2 separate regions of the Homo sapiens genome follow, and region 2 is linked to region 1. The links are contacts of gene promoters, found by promoter capture Hi-C in human tissues and cell types (Jung and others, 2019). All regions are on one chromosome and are shown on one strand. Each heading gives the region's core, a stretch centred on a gene start or on the middle of the fragment in contact. The rest is flanking DNA. Distances are from core to core; before and after follow the strand shown. Region 1 overlaps LOC105377085 (a long non-coding RNA gene). Region 2 holds the start of GRM2 (glutamate metabotropic receptor 2).

Region 1 (4,735 bases), core at 1,493-3,992:
TCACCAGTTACCTCAGGGAAGCTAAACTCTCAATGCCTCTTCTGCCCCAGCCCGACCCCAGTCTGCCAAATTCCCAGACCTCAGGAGAGGGGGTCGGGGAGACGCATCCAGATGCGCCTTAGGGATTAGACACACAGAAGCCCCTAAAATTCCAAATACTTTCCCAACCCCACACCGCGCTCTGGTCATCCTCCGGGGCGCCAGCATCCAGAGCCAAAAGCGCAGAGGGGCAACAGTTAAGTCTCCGTGTCCCTACGACTCCCTTCCCCGGCTACGAAATCCTCAAATATCAAGCCACTGAGGCCCCGGGTCGAGGCCCAAGACCCCCGCCAAGCCTCCGGCCACTGGAGTTTCCCGGGTGGGGGACCCCGTGCCCCGAAGGCCCGGGCCGCTGGGTCCATCTAGCTGCCCCGAGCCACTGCATGGCAGGGGCCCAGGCCGCGTCTCCAGTCGGTCCCCATTGTTGCGGGACCCGGCGGCCCCGGCCGGGAGCGAGGAACCGGCACCGGCGTCTCACCTCCTGCGCCGCGGCTCCGGGCCGCGCCGGACCGCGCAGGGCCGAGGGACCTCACGTTCAGCTTCGCCCGCCTAGGCAAAGTCTGCGGCGGCGGAGGCGGGGGCGGCGGCTGAGGCGGGAAGCAGCCGGCCAGGCCCGGGCGCCGCGGGCTGGCTCTGGCCAAGCGTCGGTCTCCACCGGCGGCGGCGCTCGCCAGCCTCCGCTCACGGTCCGCGCCAGAAAGCGTCCCCCTCCCGGCCCGCGCGCCCGACCGCACGGACGGGAACACGCGCCGCGGAGAGGAAAGTTCCGCTGAGAGCCGACTGAAGGCCGTTCCCCTGCGCCGGGTGTACGGCGATTCCTGCCTGGATGGGACCGTTTCTGGAATGAATGCCGCACAGAAATCCCAAGCCAGAAGCTGCCTGAGAATGGTTCTAGGGGTGGGTCCAACGGAATGGTTTTGCACTCGCCAGCCATTTAGCATCTCAATTGAGCCTCAGTTTCTCCTCATTTCTCATTGGGAATAATCTAGGCGGCTTGTTAGGATTGAATGAGGTGATGCGAATACCTAGCTCAGAGATAGGGAGCTCTACACCGGGGTACGATCGTTACTGATCCTGCCAATGCTGCTGCTACTGTTGCCTCCAACATAGGTTGTGCTCAGCCCTCAAGGGCCCTTGAAATTATGCGCATCATGTAACTCTTCTTTTTTCACCCTCGGTCCCCACCTACCATCCTGTTTCCTGTTAAGTGAAGCTGTCTTCAGAATTCCCTGGAAGAGAAGCAGAGGCAAAAGGGGGCTTTCTTGATTGCTGACACTCAGGTGGAGGTTAAGGGTGCAGGTTCTCCTTCCTCAAGTTGGGAATTACTGCCATGTGGCCATGTGGGCTCCAGTTACTGATGGGACTGTAACGGCTCTCTCCACTATAGCCTCAGGTTCTCTTCTCCTCTTCCCAATAAGTGAATGTTGACAAAATGATTTTTTTTTTTTTGAGAAGGAGTTTCGCTCTTGTCGCCCAGGCTGGAGTGCAGTGGCGGGATCTTGGCTCACTGCAACCTCCGCCTCCTGGGTTCAAGCTATTCTCCCGCCTCAGCCTCCCGAGTAGCTGGGATTACAGGCGCCCGCCACCACGCCCCGCTAATTTTTTGCATTTTTAGTAGAGACAGGGTTTCGCCATATTGGGCAGGCGGGTCTCGAACTCCTGACCTCAGGTGATCCTGCCCACCTCTGCCTCCCAAAGTGCTGGGCCACCAGGCGTGAGCCACCACCTCTGGCCGACAAAGTGATGTTTTAAATTACAAAAGTGCATCTTTCTTTGAAGGCTTTGTATTTTACTCATAAAATCAAGAGGATAGCAATTCCTTTCTCGTCCCCACTTTCCTTTTCTTCTAGGCCTTCACACCTCTAAGATACCAGATGCGGTTATTTTTGGAGCTAACTCTTGATGGGAATTTAGATCTGCAGAAGGTGTTCCAAAAAAAATCCTAATTTTCAGGTGTTCTCAAATTTCCCATTTTTACATACCCCCTTGGCTTCTGAGACACATATATGCCTGATTTTTCATTTATATTATTTTCTGGAGGTAATGAAAGGGTTCTGCCTGTCAAAAGGCACTTTGCTATCTAATATGGATCTGTGTCCCCACCCAAATCTCATGTTGAATTGTAATCCCCAATGTTGGAGGTGGGGTCTGGTGGGAAGTAATGGGATCATGGGGGTAGATCCTTCATGAATGGCTTAGCACTGTCCCTTTGGTTCTCTTCTTGTGAGTTCTCACAAGATCTGGTTGTTTAAAAGTGTATGGTGTCGGCTAGGCGCGGTGGCTCATACCTATAATCCCAGCACTTTGGGAGGCCGAGGCAAGTGGATCACCTGAGGTTAGGAGTTTGAGACTAGCCTGGCCAAAATGGCAAAACCCTGTCTCTACTAAAAATGCAAAAATTAGCCAGGCATGATGGTGTGTGTCTGCAATCCCAGCTACTCGGGAGGCTGAGGCAGGAGAATCACTTGAACCCAGGAGGTGGAGATTGCAGTGAGCTGAGATTGTGCCACTGCACTCCAGCCTGGGCAACAGTGAGGCTGTCTTAAAAAAAAAAAGTGTATGGCACCTCCCCCCACTTCTCTTTTCCTCCTACTCCAGCCTTGTGAGGTGCTCGCTCCCCCTTCGCCTTCCACCATGAATGTAAGTTTTCTGAGTCCTCCCCTGAAGCCCAGCAGATGCCAGCATCATGCTTTCTGTACAGCCATGAGCCAATTAAACCTCTTCTTTATAAATTATCCAGTGCCAGGCATTTATTTATAGCAGTGTGAGAACAGACTAATAGAGTGTTCCTTCTGGAAACAGCAGGCTCATGGGTTAGAAAGCAGCACAGTCAAAGCCTCTGGAAGCTTCTCCGCTTCCTCAGGTAAGAGGAACTTCATCCTAGGTTCTTCAGAGGCAAAGAATGCCTCAAAAGCTGGTTCCAGCCAAGTGCAGTGGCACATTTCTGTAGTCCCAGCTTCTCAGAAGGCTGAGGCAGGAGGCTCACTTGAGCCCAGGAAGTCAAGTTCAGCTTGGGCAATATAGCAAGACACTATCTCTTAAAAAAATAAATAAAAATTTTAAAAAGCTAGTTAACTTCTCTCCAGCAGCCTGAGGTCAGATCAGCATTCCGACCCCTCCCAGCTTCATGTCTTGCATTTTACTCATTTGGCCTCTTAGCTGGGACTCTCCGGGTGACACATAGAGCATATTTGGCCTCAGGAGTTGAAACAGGTTCACATGAAAGCCCCAGAGACTACCAAAGAGAGGAGAAAGAAACCAGTCAGGTTGGCCAGATATATTTAAACGCACACACACACACACACACACACACACACACACACTCCTATTGTTAATCCCCCCACCCCCATCCCCTGGCCCCCAATTAAAAGACTTAAGGCACAACCACCAAAACATAGACACTTACCTTTCTCATGTCACTAAAGTAGGAGCCACAAAGGCCAGAGCTAGCTCCCCTGGTGATGGAAGCCTCTTCCATTCCCTCCTCCCAGGATGGCATTGTCCTTCTGTAACATCTGTTTCCCCACCCTTCTAGAAATTCCCTGACTACTTGGATGATGTCATGCCCGCACAACAACCTCTGAGATTCATGGTACCCCAAAATTCACCTGTAGAAAGATTTGGTTCTATTAGGGGAAGTCCCTAGAGTGATTTATGCATACACCTGCCTATTGTTGGCTATACCTTTAAGTGAGTTTAAAAGATCTGGGACTGCCCTTCTGGGATTAGGCAAAATTCACCAGGGACTTGTTGGTTAATCAGAAACCAGAACAAGGTTTTCTTCATCACCATGAAAACACACATGGAAAAACACTCTCTTCATTTTTTTTTTTTTTTTTTTTTTTGAGATGGAGTCTTGCTCTGTCACCCAGGCTGGAGTGCAGTGTCGTGATCTCGGCTCACTGCATCCTCCACCTCCCAGGTTCAAGCCACCCTCTTCATTTTATCTGTTTCACCTCCTGCTTATTCCGTGAGAGTTAGATCAATCCTGCACCCACCAGCCACACTTAATGGCCCCCCCTCACTTCTGAATGCCAAAGCCATGATCACTCTGAACCAGATTCCAAGGTGACAAAGGGTTGTATTGCTTTCTTCAACAGTCATCCCATTCTTGGGATATTTTTACCTTTTCTGCTTGTATACCACTCATCACCCAGATTATAATGTCCTAGGAGATTTTTTAAAAATCGACCCCAGTATCTAATGACGGCCTAGCATAATTGCTACGCCATAAAATTCCCCATTCAGCAACTATTTACTGGGTACCAATATGTACCAGGCACTGGCCAGGCACGGTGGCTCATGCCTGTAATCCCAGCACTTTGGGAGGCCAAGGCGGGCGGATCATGAGGTCAGGAGATCAAGACCATCCTGGCTAACATGGTGAAATCCCGTCTCTACTAAAAATACAAGAATTAGCCAGGCGTGGTGGCGGGCGCCTGTAGTCCCAGCTACTCAGGAGGCTGAGGCAGGAGAATGGCGTGAACCCAGGAGGCAGAACTTGCAGTGAGCCGAGATGACGCCATTGCACTCCAGCCTGGGTGACAGTGCGAGACTCCGTCTCAAAAATAAATAAATAAATAAATAAATAAATAAAAGATGTACCAGGCACTGTACCCAATGCTGGGGAATACTAGTAAGACATGACAGGCATGACCATAAGCATTTTACAGTTATTAACTCATTTAATCCTCAC
Region 2 (4,735 bases), core at 1,114-3,613, 170 kb before region 1:
GATGGAGACATCACTGTAGGAACCGCCAATAACACCAGTGATGGCAGTGGGAGCATCACCATGGGTCGCATAAGAGCCGTCGGGGCAGATGTGGCGTGAGCCATCAGCACCACGGCTGAGTGAGGCACGCACAAAGTCCAGTGCCTGCTCCAGCGCATGTGTGTCCTTGGAGCAACTGTCGAGGATGTGTGCACCCAGGCGCACGCCAGGCAGCAGGTGCGGGTCACGGTTGATGCGGTCCAGTGCAAAAAGCATGGCCTCCAGGCGCTGGATGCCACGGTGCTCATTGACAGGACCACAGTCCTCTGCTGGGCCGCCCTTCTGGTGCACTGGGAACAGCCCACCCAGCACCAAGTCTCCCTCCAGGGTCAGCACCTTCTTGGCTGGGCCCTCAGCCACAGCACCCCACAGCAGCAGCAGTGCCAGGAGCGCAAGCAGCGATCCCATGGCCCCAAAGGGGATGGATGGGTCCCGCAGACCTGGGTCTCCAGGGGATGAGATTAGAAGCAGCGAAGGCAAAGAGAGGAGGAAACAGGGACCAGGAAAGGACAGACAAGAAGAGAGATGCGAAGGGACCCAGCTCCTGCAGAGAGATAGAAAGACAGAAAAACAGACCAGGAAAAGTGGAACCTGAGAGCAGCTGCCCCTTCTGACTCTGCCTCCCCACGAGCCCCTTTCCTAGGTACTCAAAAGCCAGGGAGGGACAGGATGGTGTCATTAAGTAGGTTGAGAAGCTCCTGGGACTCCCCTGGACCTGTCTCTCAGCCCTGGCCTCAGCTTGGTGAGAGATGGGCCATATTCCCCTACCAAACTCAGCAGTGGGGAGAGATGCAAGCAGTGAAGTCCCAGGCAGAGGACAGGAGACCCCAGCCAATGCTGACCCCTCTGTAATTCAAAGGGTGTCCAAGAACAGCACAAACCTCCCAGGACCCCGAGGTCAATACCTTTGGAACAGACTATGTCACAGTCACAAACTCAGAGGTCCCCATCCTGAGCCTTGGATTTCCAGAGAGAAGGAACTGCTGTCTCAGGACCCACCAGGGAAGAGGAAGGGAAGCATCTCTAAGGGACAGTCTCCAACCCGTGGGGAGACTGGAGCCCATGTGAACACCCAAGGGTTCTAACCTTTGGTTCTTAAAAAGCCATCCCCACAGTTTGCTGACTGAGGAAGGAATAGAGACACTAAGCCCTGGGAATGAGACAGCAAGGTGGAATGGCTGGCCTCAGGGAGGGTACCCAAGTGGCTCAAGGTCCTAAGTCAACAGGGCAAGCAGATGTTCACGTATGTGTGTGTCAGGGTTGGGGGCTAGAGTCTCCAAACAGTGCTGAGGGTGAGAGTGCGGGACTCTCTAGCTCTGTGTAGAACACTGCTTGAGATTTTGTGCCTCTGTTTTCTCTTCACTCCCGACCCAGCAGAGAAAGTCACCATTTCCAATCTCCCCATCCTCAGCTTCAGGGCCCTGCCCACCCTAGCCATGGCCCTCAGAGACCCCCTCCCTGTCTCTTCCCCACTGCGTCCAATCATTTGTACCCCAGTTGCCTTCCCAAACACACACCCCACAAAGGCTCTCACAATCACACAGGCTTGGAAAGGCTGGGAGAGGGACATACCTCTTTCCTCAGAACAGGAAAGGAAACTGAGTTTGAAGAAGGGCAGCAACTAACTCAAGGACCCCATGTGCTGGCCACGGAGGCTGAGCCTCTTCATTTTGCCCCCTCAGCTCCCCAGGGCAGGGGCACTGGGCTCCTCTGGGGATCAGGAAAGCAGCAGCTTACCCAGGCAAGCGAGGGAGAAGCAGGGAGGAAGACCAGCACAGATGGAGACAGGGACCCAGATGGGGGCTGAAGCCAAAACTGGTCAAGTCGCAAGTCTCCCAGAGGGGAGGCCCAGACGGAAGCTCAGAGGCAGGAAGGGGACAGAAACCCGGAGTCAGACAGCCAGGAGCCTGGGCCACAAAATCTGGGCAGGGAGCGAGCAAGCCTGAGAGGTTGAGACAAAGACGGAGGCACAGACAGAAAGAAGGACCAGAGGACGCTGGAGCAGGAGGAACGGGGGAGTGCGATGTGGGGCGTGCGTTTTCTGGAGAAGAAAGGCGGGACGCCCGGGGCTGTCTTCCCGCTTCCCGGAGCTCTCAGGGAACGCTGTCTGGACACAGCAGCGCGGGCGCCCCACAACTTGAGGGCCCGCAGGACCCTGGGACGTGAGGTAAGGGCCAAAAAGGTCGGCAGCGGCAGCGGCACCACCACCACCGGCTCACCCTACCTGGCGCGCTGGCTCTGGCGCGGAGAGAATCGGAGTGGAGCGGGGGGCGCGAGGCTCCGGCTCCCGCTCGCTCGCTCGCTGGCTCGCTGGCTCTGCGCTCTCCGCCCGCCCGCTCGCCCCGCCGCTTTCAATCGCGGCCCGCCCCGCCCCGCCCCCGGCCCCGGCCCGCCCCCAGCCCCTCCTCCGTTCCTCCAGACGCCAGGTCTCCTGCTCCCAACCCAGCCTCCGCCTCCTCTGGACACTCCGCGCTCCAGCTTTTCTGGGGACCTCAGGGCCTGGAGCTGTCCGCCTCGTGGTGCTGAATCCCCGAGCGCTCTCGCTCTGCGCTGGAGCGGGTGCTTCGTGGCCCACTCCGCCCCATAGTCAGACTACCACCTAGAGAGCATAGGTGGGGGGCGGGGGGATGCCACGGGGCACGGGGTGGGGAAGGTCACTGCGCCCCGACAGGTGCCCATAGTGCTACTGCAGAGTGGAGGAGCTGGCCTTAGTGCAAGGGGTGCCTCTGGGGGATAGGTAAAGGGGCGCGTGGGAGACGGGTGGAGTCTATTCTCCCCACTCAGCGATTTCAGCTGGGTCCACATCCCAGGCCTGAGTTGGAGGCATGTGTCCTCTGCCACTTTTGAGACCTGGAGCCAGAGTCACTATGAGGAAAAGATTGGGGGAAGGGAGAGGTCAGAGGAGAATGGGGCCTCCCCTTCCTTCCTGCAGATGCCCTTTAAACCTGCCACCCACTCCCATGTAAAAAGGGTATTTAAGCAAGGAGAGAGCAACCTGCAGGAAGGGCTGCAGAACCAAGTACTAGGGTCAACCCTGAGGGAGTGTTAGGGATGGCAGGGGCATCTGGGAGGGGAGGGGCCTAGGGAAAGGCTTCTGGAACTGGCTGCTGCGTAGGAGGGAGTGAGAGCTGGAGCCCAAGCAGAGGGAGGACAGCTCTGAGAAGATTCTCTTGACTCTTCCCTCCCACAGCAGGATGGGGAAGGACGCCCCTGGGTAGAGGGTAGTGGATAAGCTGTAGTGCCAGACTGTGCTGAAGGAATGGGGATTAGAGAGCCTGTGCTATCTGCCCCTAACATGTGCACACACTAACAAGTGCCAAGGGGCATGGCATCCCTACACACATTCCCGACACTGCCCTTTCTTCCACAGGTGTCAGTGGAAGCAAGGCCAGCTCAGATACATGCTAATGAACATGCCAAGCCCAGACCCCTCAGGCACACACACCCACATGTGCGTGTGGCAGTCCGTAGGGGTGCGGGGGTGATCACCAAGGACGAGCTTTTTCCCTGGACACAGAAACCTGATGTCCTGCTGCTGTGGAAAGAATACAGCTTTGAAACGAAACAGACACATAAAACCCAAACAAACACAAGCCCCATCACTAACAGGAGACAAGGTGGCAGTGGGAGACAGACATGCTGTCTTCCACCTCCAACTCTGCCACCGGCTGCTCTCACCCTCTCTGGCTGCCTCAGAGCAACAGCTCCCTGGGGTAGGTGAGCAATGGGCCAGGCCTCTGGAGCAGAGGGGTTGACAGCAGGAGGGTGCTGAGGTGAGGAGTCACACACTCCTTCTAGCCACACTCCCAACCTGCTCAACAAGTCAGCCTCACAAAAGGCACAGGGCTGTAAACACAGATATGGCTGTGTACAGCATCAGCCAGAAAAGCCCATGATGTGGCCTGCAGCAAACAAGCTGCACAGTCGCAGCACATGGACACACAGTTACACACAGCTAGGCAGCCACCACTCCCAGCTGTGTGCACACGGATGAGGACATACACTTAGCCTTACACAGTTGTAAATGTGGACATGGCCACATGCATAGTACACATAAACATGCAACCACACACAGCTATACTTGTAGACAGCCATAATACACATGGGCACACCCCTGCCCCTAAGAACATGTGACCATGTCTACACACGGCTGCACATGTGGACACAGCCACATATATACAGCTGCTCACACAAGGACATGCCACAAATAGCTGTCCACCAAGACATGTCCACACATACATGGCCATAATTATGGATATACGGCTGCAGGACACATAGCAAATGTGTGTTTTTATATGTGGACACATAGCAAAACACATAGCTTTATACATGAACGTCATGAACATCACCATACACACAGTTGTACAGACACAGCCACACACAGTTGTACATGAACAAAGCCCCCATAGAGATGCTGTTAGCCAGCCTCACATGCTCCTATAATACAACCATACACAGACACAAAGCACAGCAATACACACACACACACACACACACACACACACTCACACAGGCACACAGCCATCCACACAGACTCAGCCATGCTCAGGTACAATCATACCCTGATGCTCACCTGGGCACAGCTTTACCCAAGCAGCCCCATCCATCCGTGGTTACACAGAGCCAAATGCATGAGCGTGGGTGCACATGCACACACACAGGTACACAGCCACTGGCAGGCACAGTGGGGGAGCCT

What was found. Contacts are between HindIII fragments. The study calls those that stand out against the background at their distance.
Region 2: the fragment with the promoter of GRM2 here is called in contact with a fragment that was not itself captured in region 1 in 2 of the 25 tissues and cell types used here (dorsolateral prefrontal cortex and mesendoderm cells).

Annotation. Positions count from the first base shown.
Region 1 is chr3:51,534,698-51,539,432 of GRCh38, reverse strand. It overlaps LOC105377085 (a long non-coding RNA gene), which reads right to left. Exons shown (of 3, transcript XR_940835.3): 2 at 3,446-3,647; 3 at 2,764-3,274. RAD54L2 (RAD54 like 2) reads right to left here and starts at 714. Exons shown (of 23, transcript NM_015106.4): 1 at 518-714. RefSeq lists a silencer at 358-757 and an enhancer at 646-940. The HindIII fragment of the contact is 7,506 bases long and covers 1-4,735 here.
Region 2 is chr3:51,704,696-51,709,430 of GRCh38, reverse strand. It overlaps GRM2 (glutamate metabotropic receptor 2), which reads right to left and starts at 2,363. Exons shown (of 6, transcript NM_000839.5): 1 at 2,264-2,363; 2 at 1-583. The coding sequence starts at 447. RefSeq lists an enhancer at 4,623-4,735. The HindIII fragment of the contact is 8,284 bases long and covers 1-4,735 here.